Regions from separate parts of the Homo sapiens genome. Here region 1 is linked to region 2. Evidence: promoter capture Hi-C in human tissues and cell types (Jung and others, 2019). All regions are on one chromosome and are shown on one strand. Each heading gives the region's core, a stretch centred on a gene start or on the middle of the fragment in contact. The rest is flanking DNA. Distances are from core to core; before and after follow the strand shown. Region 1 holds the start of DLC1 (DLC1 Rho GTPase activating protein). Region 2 overlaps DLC1 (DLC1 Rho GTPase activating protein).

Evidence for each region. The method cuts DNA at HindIII sites, captures the fragments that hold promoters and counts their contacts. A contact is called where the count stands out against the background at its distance.
Region 1: the fragment with the promoter of DLC1 here is called in contact with a fragment that was not itself captured in region 2 in 2 of the 25 tissues and cell types used here (aorta and heart right ventricle).

What each region holds. Positions count from the first base shown.
Region 1 is chr8:13,512,525-13,518,282 of GRCh38, reverse strand. It overlaps DLC1 (DLC1 Rho GTPase activating protein), which reads left to right and starts at 3,432. Exons shown (of 18, transcript NM_182643.3): 1 at 3,432-3,681. The HindIII fragment of the contact is 7,641 bases long and covers 1,707-5,758 here.
Region 2 is chr8:13,113,596-13,119,233 of GRCh38, reverse strand. DLC1 (DLC1 Rho GTPase activating protein) reads left to right here. Exons shown (of 18, transcript NM_182643.3): 6 at 3,577-3,648. Among named protein-coding and RNA genes, the nearest start is that of TRMT9B, 170 kb to the right of the region's middle. The HindIII fragment of the contact is 5,196 bases long and covers 1-5,139 here.

The DNA.
Region 1 (5,758 bases), core at 2,183-4,682, 400 kb before region 2:
ACAGAAATTAGCCAAGTGTGGTGGAGTGCATCTGTAATCCCAGCTAGTCAGGAGATGGAGGCAGGAGATTTGCTTGAACCTAGGAGGCGGAGGTTGCCTTGAGCCGAGATCACCACCACTGCACTCCAGCCTGGGCAACAGAGCCAGACTCTGTCTCAAAAACAAAAACAAAAACAAAAAAAAGAAAGGTGATCTTTAAAATACCATTTAATCCACCTCCTGCTATTCTTCTTTCCACAGAGTACATAATTGTTCCACCACTATAACGGTTTCACATGTATACATTTAACTTGGAGTTCAATAGAAGAGAGAGAAAGATTCTAAAAATACCTGAAAGAGAGATGTAAACATTAAAAAAGGCAATAATTTAAGTGGTAAAAATAATTCTAGCTAATGGCTTTATATGGACTAGCTTTTTGCATTGTGACAATTCTTAGTTATGGAAGCTAAGACATCCTCACCCCGGTTAGGTAACTCACACAGGTCACAAAAGCTGTTAGTTTTGGAGCAGACTCCTATCCTGATACTTTGTTTTCAAGTTCTTAACTGTCCCTGTCCCCTTATTTGATTAGCTGATCCAGTACAGAGTAACAGTCAAACATTTAAGGAAGTTGGTATTTAGATTTGCAAGTAGAAAGAAGGGGACAAATATTTTGAACTCCTTCAGTGTTCCTGACACAATACTAAGTACTTAGGAAGTTTTCTCACTATTTATCTTTACACTCATATTTGGTAAAGCCTTTATAAGACTATAAGATCTGAGATTTGTTTGGAATCAAGCAACTCAACAATGAAAAATAAATATAAGTAATTAAAGATTTGGGAAGTAATCCTATTAATAGAAGAAAACATAATGTATTTTTTGTGTAGAAAAGGGTATGTTTATGAGAAACTTACTAACAAGAGTTTCTAGATATCTAAAAGGCATTTGTGAACAGAGTTTTCTTGTTTTCCCAAGCCAATAGAAATAGAAACAAAACTAAAGTATATGGCGCGGGGTACAGTATTCATGAATAAAATGTAGCTAAGAATTAGCATGATGCTGATATAATATTGAGTAACCACTGTATATCAGTACTAAAGGCAGTGACAGAGATAGAGATATCAAGTTATATTAGGAAAGACATAATATCAGTTCTCATTCCTTTCTTCTCCAGTGTTTTTCTTAGGGAAATAAACATAAATACACAAATATTTCTGCATATAAATTTCATCCTGCTTTCCAATCTATAAGTTATGTGAAATTGTCTCTATTTTTAAAGAGAAACTATTAGAGTTTAAGAAGTCTTCCCAATTTAATAAAGAAATTAAGTGGAAGTCAAGGAAGGCAGTTTATGGAGAAAAAATTAAAGCACAAAGCTTGGAGCTAGAATATCTGAGTTCCAGTGTGGACCTGGGCACTTTGTATCATTTGACTGTGAGAAAATTGCTTCTCAATACTTTATTTGTAAAATAAAACATATGAATACACGCAAAATTGTTGGAAAGATTAAATAGGCATACTGTCAGTAGAAACACTTTGAATATAAATATAAATACTTTTTAAAGAATTTATGGAAGAACAGACTTCTTTCTTGGCCTATGGTTGAAGATTAAATTAAAGAAACCTAAATGCTCATGTTTTTAGTCAATAAGACTTTGATCTAAACTTTTAAAGCTGCTTCTGACCAAACGTTTTTATTTGACTACTTCTCATCTTCAAACTCATGCACAGTATAAGTCATTCTTGCCATCTAACATGGGTCTAATATGGTTCATGATTTGCATTAACTTTGAGAGATTTTAGCTACCTAATAAGGAAAAAAATAGTAGTTAGAACCTTGTGCATCTTTGAGTTATCACCTACCCAATATTATCAAAAAGTACTACAAGATAGCCCTTGTGATATACAGGGATGGAGAATAACAGTGAACAATGAAAACTACTTACAATTTCAGAGAAGAACAGGATAGATCTTAGGGCCAACAAGTTTAAGATGTCTTTTACCTCTTTATATGTTACTCATTTTATCACATCCAACTGGAATTATTCTTGCACTTCCTATTATTGAAAGCTTCTAGAAATTTGCAAGAAGCAGATAGACCTAATAATTAATCTGATCATCAGTCCCCCCCCAAAAAAATGCTTGAGTCATAAATAGCAGCGAAATCCATTGATTGTAAATAAAGTAGAAGGGAGACATGACTGAGCCATTTCCACCAAGCAAGATAATTAAAGTCAGAGATGCTGTTTCCTGCTTCCCTGGTATAAACAATGAAGCTGCTCTACTGGCCTCTCCACAGCCTGGATGTCCCAAAACCACCTCCCTCTTCTTTCCTTCCACATTCTCTAAAGAGGATTCTGGGTCATAAAGGAAGGAAAATTGGTGTAACTTTTTTCCTGAAACGACTTCAGCTTCCTCTGTGTTTGTATTTGTGATATCTTATTATAAGACGAGCTAACATCTATTATTAATTGATGCACTAATTAAAGCCATACTTGCAGTTTCCATTAGCTTATTCCCTAAATTCTCCAGAGTTGCCTGTCTGGTTTTAATCAAAACCAAATGGTAGTCCAAATTCCCAACCTGGAGCAGCTAGGAGGAAGTCATTCAAGGGAGGCACAAGAAAGCAGAAAAGATAAACAGATGATAGTTCACAAAATTTGTGACGGACGAAGGATGCAGATACCATGAGCGGCTTTAGAGATGTGATTCAGGAACGCTGCCATGCTAGATGGAAGCAGTTGTAAGTGTTTAATGTCAGCAAGACTCTAATACGATCAAGATGGAGCCTGTCTTCTGCTCCAGCACTGGATTTTTGTAACTGGAGGATTCTGACTAGAGGTAATGCGCTGCTGCATTTGCCATAACACGAACTATTTTAATTCTGTGAAGGATTCTTGTGATCAGAGAGATCTGGAAGAAATCGTTCTATTAACTGGATGCTTGGGATTTTACTTACAGATGGTCTCAGGGACAGAATGAAAAGCTGCAGCATTTCCAATTTTAAGTCATGTTCAAAAAAGGTTTTGCCATTTAGAAGAATTATGGTATTAAGGCTAAATTCATCTTGCTCTCTTAAAAGATCTTTTGAAATGAGAGCAAGCACAGGCATTTTGATTAAGCTGTGCATATACATTTAATATAGTGGAAAGGTTGTGGATAGAGAGAAAACTACGTTTTCTTTCTTTCTTTCTTTCTTTTTTCATAAGCAGTGTGGGATAGAAAAAGCTCTAGGACTTTATGACTCTACAGCTAATCACCTCAAGAGCTTTGACAAAACTCACTTGAGTTCTGTGTAAAATCAGAACTCCTAAAACGCCCAGGCGGCTGGGCTCTCCCCTCCTCCCCTCTCTTCGTACAGCCTTTCTAGCATGCACACTCCTCAGAGGCAGGAAATACTTTCCAGGCAATCTGGGCCTGGTTGTGGAGGCCCCTTTTGCAAAACCTCAGTCTGAATTTAGTAGACAGAAGTCACTAGGAATGCCTTGACAGGATCCTGCCTTAGCTAAGGCTCCCTCCAGCTGCAGAGGGTGTTTTTGTTAGACTCACACACTGCGTGAAACTGCTCAGAATAGAGCCATGATCTCAACCACGAAATGGGAACTTAGATTTTGGAGAAACTAACGGGGACGGACTTCTTTCCTAGCCTGAGTGTTGAGCAGTGTCATGCCTTGGCGTTTCAGCTCCTCGTTGTCTAGGTAAGACGCTATGGACTATCTTTATGCTTTGAGGCGGTCTTTGAAGAGGCAGAAAGATTGAGATAAATGTTAGCATCTTGCACGGAGTTGGTGACTTCCTAGGTTTTAGAGCAAAGCCATAAAATCAGAAGTGGAAAATGTTTGATAAGTAGAAAATTCTGAGTCAATTCGTTTTAGCAAACTGTCAGTTCTAAAACAGGCTCCATATAGATTTAACTCTTTTCCTCCATAAAGTAAGATTTTATTTTTATCCCTTTTTACGTTTAACTTATTTATTAATTGAGCTGTCGGATCAGTTTTCCTATTTCTTGGCATAACGTGAAACAAATACATTTTCTCACACATCAGTGTGAGGTGTAAATGAATTCCTCCCCTACCTTCCTTTGCCAACAGGGAGAGTAGAAAGCACCCGAGTGACTTGTGCTTAATAATCAGTCTCCAAAGAGTATTTTGTGTCTCATTTAAAACTACGAAGATTGAATTTCTTATTATTTTACCCAAGCCAGTTTCAATCATATGTCAAGCTTCTCCTGTACAGCTTAAAAGGTTCATTTAAAAAAAAAAAGTAAACACGTGAAATTTCAGGAATTATTTCTGTCCTAAATAGTATTTAATCTGAGTTTTGGAAATTTAAATGTCGGAATCGAATTTAGTTTATATTAATTTTCCTGGATTCACTGCTTGCTCCGGTCACATTTTGTGTAATATTTTGAATAACTGAAGTCAATCTCAATGACACTGACACTCATTATAACTCTTTTAAGGCAGCCAGAAATCACTCCAGTCATATGGAAACTGTTTGTGTCCTTACTTATGTAATCGTAAAATTACATTTCCACCTGACTGTAGTCTCTTCAAGGTAATCTTAAATGTTTAAATGTACAATATATTAGAAAAGAAGTTTAGTAATGACCGAAAAAGTGTGGACTTATAATGCATAAGATACTGTTATATTTCTGAATATTTATAATAAAATTCATCATTTTATAGAAATAAAATGGTACATAAAGGGAAGAAATATTCATGTACATTTTCAAATCTATTAGATGAATACAAAATATACTAAGTGAAAGATGGAGAGCTATTTTGACAGTTGGATCATAAGAAATGAAGTAACTGTTTTCATTATAAGTTTTTATATAGTACAAGGTGACCATCTGCTATATTAGCTATTCTCAAATTTTATGCTAGAATAACTTATATTGATAAATTTTAACTATTCACTGACAATTTGTGTTAAAACTTCTTAAATATGAGAAAAAGAATCTACTTTTTATATATGTGGAAGATAAAATACTGACTTATCTAAATTATGATTTAATTAAAATCTCCAAATGGAATTTCAGAGAAGGAAAGAACATAAGAGATGGTCTCCTCTAACAATGGCTTGAGGTTGTCTACAAGAAGCTGAGAAATGGGATTTAAAAGTGACCTGTCCAAGGTCACACCTCTAGCTAATAGAAGAGAGGACAGCAGAACCACAGTGCCCTGATTCATAATTCAGATACCTTTTTATCCCATCATCCTGCCCTCCCATAATAATTATGCATAATGAAGTATGAACATGTCCAGTAGAAGGGTGCTTTGCAGACAGAAATTTGCAGTTCCTCTAATTTAAAAAAAAAAAAAAAAAAAGGTAAAACTGTCACCAATGTTAATTATGTGGGGAAAAAAATCCTAACTTTAAAAAAAAATCAAATCAGTATGCCTTCAATAAACACTTTACAGTAGTAACTTGCTTTATGACTATTTTATTATATTTGATGTTTATGTCAAGAAAATCAATCCATATGCTAATAATTATATTAATTTTAATCTGATGTTTCTTTAAAAATAGGGCTAGAAAACAGCTTTTCTAATTTATATCCTTGTACTCAAATGATCATAATGAAACTGTCCCAACCAATGACTTTCAGAGGCAATTTTACAGCACCACCCCCAGGCATCCTTTCTTCTATCTAGCCTAAATCATTGTTGCTGTAGCTTATTTCAAGTTCTATGTGGGTCTTTTCACTAAATATATAAAAAGCCTAAGTTGACATATAAAAAATATGTTTACATTTCTCCAGCATGTTTG
Region 2 (5,638 bases), core at 1,292-3,791:
TTTTTTTAGACAGGGTCTTGCCCTGTTGCTCACGTTGGAATGCAGTAGTGTGGTCACAGCTCACTGCAGCCTCCACCTCTGGCTCAAGTAGGTCCTTCCACTTCAGCCCCTCAAGTAGCTGAGACAACAGGCATGTGCCACCATGCCTGGCTAATTTTTGTATTTTATGTAGAGATGGGGTCTCCCTATGTTCTTCAGGCTTGTCTTGAACTCCTGGGCTCAAACAGTCCACCCAACTCTCCCTCCCAAAGTGCTGAGACTACAAACGTGAGTCACCGCACAGAGCTAAGACCTCATTCTTTACACGTGGAGCTCCAGCGAAGTTTGTGAAGGAGAGAGAAGATTAATACTGTAACTCAGAAAGTTTGATGAGCCAGGATTGATGGACAGATTCTCTTAAGAGAGGGTTGTTTACAGACCCAGAGTTTTATTAATACTTAGATTAGAGAGAAAGTAATGGTGTGAATCGGGGAATGAAACTGTGTGACTCGCATGTAGATATAGGTTCATTTCACATTAAAAAAATAAAAATAATTGATTTTTAAAAATCAGTACGTACATTGGATTGTTAGTACTTTCTCTTGACCTATGAATTGGAAAGTGTAGGCGTGAGGTCAACAAGTATTCCATTTTCTAAAAAATATGTGACAACTTTTTACAGTTTTCCAATTCTGATTTCTACAAAGCAGTGGGTTAGGGTCTCATTTGAATGCAGCCTAAGTTTTCAGAGTGGACTCTTTGTGTTGGTAAAATAGTCATATGCTTGTCTATTTCCCATGGTTTCATATCAAAAGGAAAGACAAATTGTCATTTTTTTTTAGGGTGAAGAAGAGAAAGGATAAGATGACTAGATCTCTGCTGTTTGGGGAGTACTGTGTTTTAGCCATTGTATAAACTGTTAATTAAATTATCTGCTGAAGAAGCAAACCTTTGCCTGTTTACATTCTTTCTAACTAAGTGGCCCTAAGAGTGACTATTTTGACACAGCTTTTCTGATCAGTTTATGATCATTTGGAGTCATTTTATTTGTTAGACAGGGCCATTAGAAAATAAGAGAGACAGCCAGGCACAGTGGCTCCTGCCTCTATCTCAGCTACTTGGGAGGCGGAGGTGGGAGGATCATTTGAGCCCGGAAGGTCGATGCTGCAGTGAGCTAGGATCATAACACTGCCCTTTAGCCTAGGTGACTGAGCAAGACTCTGTCTCAAAAAAAAAAAAAAAAAAAAAAAGAAAGAGAACAAGAAGACAGGAATATGCATTTTTGTGTTGCTGAAATCACATGGGACCTTAAATAAATACTTTGTAAAGTTATTATATAAAAAATATAAAGATTGCTTAAAAAACTAGTATCTTACATCTTCCATGCCTCTTGGCATGAAACTATTTCTCTTAGTAAAGCAGGAGCATGCTCTGGCAGGATTGGCTAGTGAATTGGTATCTAATTAAGGCTTTTGTATGTGGGCTCACCTACTGCCGTGTCTGACTATCGTCAAAAAAGGGCGGGCACTGAGAATTTTTGGTTACTCACCACTTATTAAGTTAAATATTAAGAAAGCAAGCACATTTACTTTTTAACAATCTATTGTTCAATGTCTAACAGTCTGTTCAATGAAAATAACCTCTAAGTAGCCAAATGAAATGAGTTTTTAAAATATTTTTAAAGACAAACAGCCTTTTTTCTTTCCATATCTATGTTTTGTGGGAGGGGGCAGGCACACAGATAGGGCAAAAGTAAGTTCCTCTTTTTTTTTTAGCGGTTACAGAGTCTTACTCTGTTGCCCAGGCTGGTGTGTGGTAGTACCATTGAGGTTAACTGCAGCCTCAGCCTTCCAAGCTGAAGCAATCCTCCCACCTCAGCCTCCAGAGTAGCTGGGACTACAGGAGCACACCACCACACCTGACTAATTTTTGTAATTTTTTTCTTTGGTAGAGACAGGGTTTCGCCATGTTGCCCAGGCTGGTCTTCAACTTCTGGGCTCAAATGATCCTCCCACCTCAGCCTTTCAAATGCAGGGATTATAGGCGCAAGCCACCACACCCAGTCTAATTTCCTTGTTTTTTAAAATAAAATATTGAGCTTGTATATGTTTTTCCAGCAATATAGTTTTCTAGGAAGTGTCTATTTTATAATTTTATTTAAAACATCTTTATTTCCTTGCTGAGACAAAATGTGGATATACACATACGAAAAAAAAGTAAGCTCAAATAATTGACTTTGGACAATTCTACACTTTTATTCAGTGTAAACATCGAAGTTCTTCCACACTGATGTCACTATCATTCGCTCCCATTTCGGTCCTAAGTCTTGGGTTGAATAATGCTACTTTCACTGCTGCACTGAAAAGATTCATGAAGTTAACTTTGCCATGCTATTTATTTCCAGGCTACTGCCATAATCGTTTTTAGTTTGGGTATTAAGAACTCATCAGGAGATGGCAGGTTATTTTTTTTCTCTTTCCTGTGTTCATTGATCAAATTCCCACTTGCTTTAATGAATTTGGATTTGCTTAATTACCTTTCTTCAAAGGCCAAGGAACTCAGGAAATAATAGGTGAAAAAGTGCTTTGAAAACATAAAGTTACTAGACAAAAATAAGATGTGTTACACTTCTGATATGAACTATTAGTCTCCCACTTGCTTGAGAGAGATGCTTAATGAAGATTTGAATCTGGCATAAATTATGCAATGTTGAGACCTTTATAAATGAGTGAACAGACTTGTGTAACTGAGTACTCTCATGGCCTGAGGAAGGTGGGAGGAAGAGTTGAAAGGAATATTCTTTGTGCAAGCAGAGACACTAACTAATGTTCCCAGGACCTCCTCTGTGAGTCAGTTTTAACGGGATTGTAAATATGTGCTCCAGTGAGTTTTAACACAGTGTGTCAGTTGCTCTTGGCCTTTCTGTTTATCGATTCTATCTACAAGATGTGAAACCACAGGGAGGTAGAAGCTTTATTAGCCATTTCTGCCTGCCAAGATTGTGGGATTTACTGACTTCGTGCCCTCCATGTTCCTTGACAGCCTGGGCCTCTCCTACTGGATTAATACCTGATGAGTACCTGATCACGCAACAGTGAAACAACACAAGGTCAGGGGCTTTTGAAACACCCAACCCCTGGGTGTCAGAAAGCCTGTGACTTTACTCAGATAAATTCTATTTTAGCGTGGTGGTGGAGGTACTTTGTGGCCTTTTGTTGAAGTGAAAAGTAGTACAATAGGCCGGCCAGGCTTCAAATGAGTTATTAAATCTCTCTTCAACTTTCTCATGATGCCTTATTTTCATAACCGTTTGTAATCAGAGCACTTCAGAAGCAGCACAAAATGAGAAACTTACTCTCAGGACCCCATTTCTATTTTTTGTAAAGGGAAAATACATCCTCATGTACACGTGAAAAAACTGGAAACGATGCATACAAAATGTAAACCATTCGAATTAAGCGTGTATGTCTGTTTGCTTATCTGTATTTTCTATGGCAGTCATGTTTTGCTTGTATCATAAAACGAAAGCTTATTCAGGAAAAATAAGCATGGCGAGGTACACATGGCTAATTTTGTCTTTCTTCTGTTCTGTTCTAGAAATTGAAGCCAAGGAAGCTTGTGATTGGCTACGGGCAACTGGTTTCCCCCAGTATGCACAGCTTTATGAAGGTAAGCTGGGAATGCCACTTTTTAAAAGTTGGCATAATCATAATCCCTTGTTCGCGAGTATTACTGATCTATGACTTATTTTCAGCAGTTTTATCGTTTAAATGTTTTATTTTTAAAAAAAATGTTGTAAGCATGCAAGACCCCCACCGCTGAAAACAAAAGCTAGCACCTTGGTAACACGCCCATGCCACTCCCCCATCTGCTGCCTGCCACTCCCTACCCAAAGTAATCAGCATGCTGAAGACTATCATTTTCTTGCTTTCTTTTTGTATAATTCTACTCCATTTCCTGAAAAGTACATTTTTACAAAGTAATTTTTACGTTTATAAAAAGGGTAGTGTGTCGTATGTAATTTCATGGGGTTTTTATTTTTCACTTAATATTGTATTGTTAAGATTCTTCTATACTGTATGGGCCTGTTATGCATTTGCTTTGGCTGCTGTGTAATACACCATTGTGTATTACACAAGAAACCACTGTTTATTCATATCCACACTCTGGTTGGTGGGTATTTTGGCTTTCTCTGTTTTGCTTTTATAAGCTGTGCTGTTGTGAACATTCTTGCATCTATCTTTTGTGGTACATGCATAATGATTCATCTTGCTTCTATCCCTAGGAACAGAATTACTGGGTAATAAAGAATATGTATGTTCAATTTTAAAATGCAAGCTTTTCGAAAGTGCCCGTACCAATTTTCACTCTTACCAATCTGTGTATCCACATTCCCTCAACGCTTGATATTGTCAGACTTTAATTTTTGCCAACCAAATGGATATAAAATGATATAGAGATTTTGACTGCCATTTCCCTAATCCTTCATGGTAATGAGCATTTATTCATGTCACTCGGCCACATTTGTTTGCTCACATTATGCTTCTCTTAATGATTTATAAGGGCTCTTTTTATTCTAAATACTAATCTTTCATTGGTCACGTGTTGCAGATATCTTTCCCACCATTTGTAATTAGGCATTTCACTTTTCTCTAGGTTGTCTTTTAATGAATATTATGTTTTCTGTGGCATTCAGTTTTTCAATTGAGAAAAATGGTTCAAAAAAAAAAATAGGATCTGTGCTGAATTCTTAACATCTCATTTTCTTATCAGTGCCCTGGGGATTGCTTGGATACTGAGGTCATTCTCTCAGCTTCTGCGTACCCTGGGGAGTGCTTGTGCTCCCTGCATGTCAAGATAAATAGGCTGTTCATTTATTTATTTATTTGTTTTGAGACGGAGTCTCGCTCTGTCGCCCTGGCTGGAGTTCAGTGGTGTGATTTTGGCTCACTGCAACCTCTGCCTCCCGGGTTCAAGCGATTCACCTGCCTCAGCCTCCTGAGTAGCTGGGATTATGGGCATGTGCCACCATGCCCGGCCAATTTTTGTGTTTTTAGTAGAGCCGGGGTTTTACCATGTTGGCCAAGCTGGTCGTGAACTCCCGACCTCAGGTGATCCACCCACCTTGGCCTCCCAAAGTGCTGGGATTACAGACATGAGCAACCACGCCTGGCCTAGGCAGTTCATTTAAATGGGAGTTTCATTATACTCTATATGAAGTCAATTTAAAATAATTACAGCTATGAACTAATGCATTCCATTTTATGGGTAACTTTCAAACAGAGGTTGGGTGAATAGCAAAGTGATTCCCAAGTTAGAATACCCGGTCTTCCTTATGTAGCCTAGACTGATTGTGATATTTTTTCCAAGAAGATGGATTCTGAATTGTTTTATTGTTAGACCGTGTAAAATATCTTACTGTTTCTTCATTCCAGAGAATATCTCCAATTTCTTTTGATTAACTTGCATGCTTATTTTGGTGGAGTTACTTGTCTTTCCTTTAGAGAGAAGTTTTAACCTGTTAACATTTAGAAGGGCTTTGGGGAAAGGGGGACCAGCATTCTATTGGATTTTCAATTCATAGCTCTACTGGAGATAAGGAAAGACAACTGCATTGGCAGTAACACCAAAGTGGCTGTCCTTTTGTTCTCCTATTTAG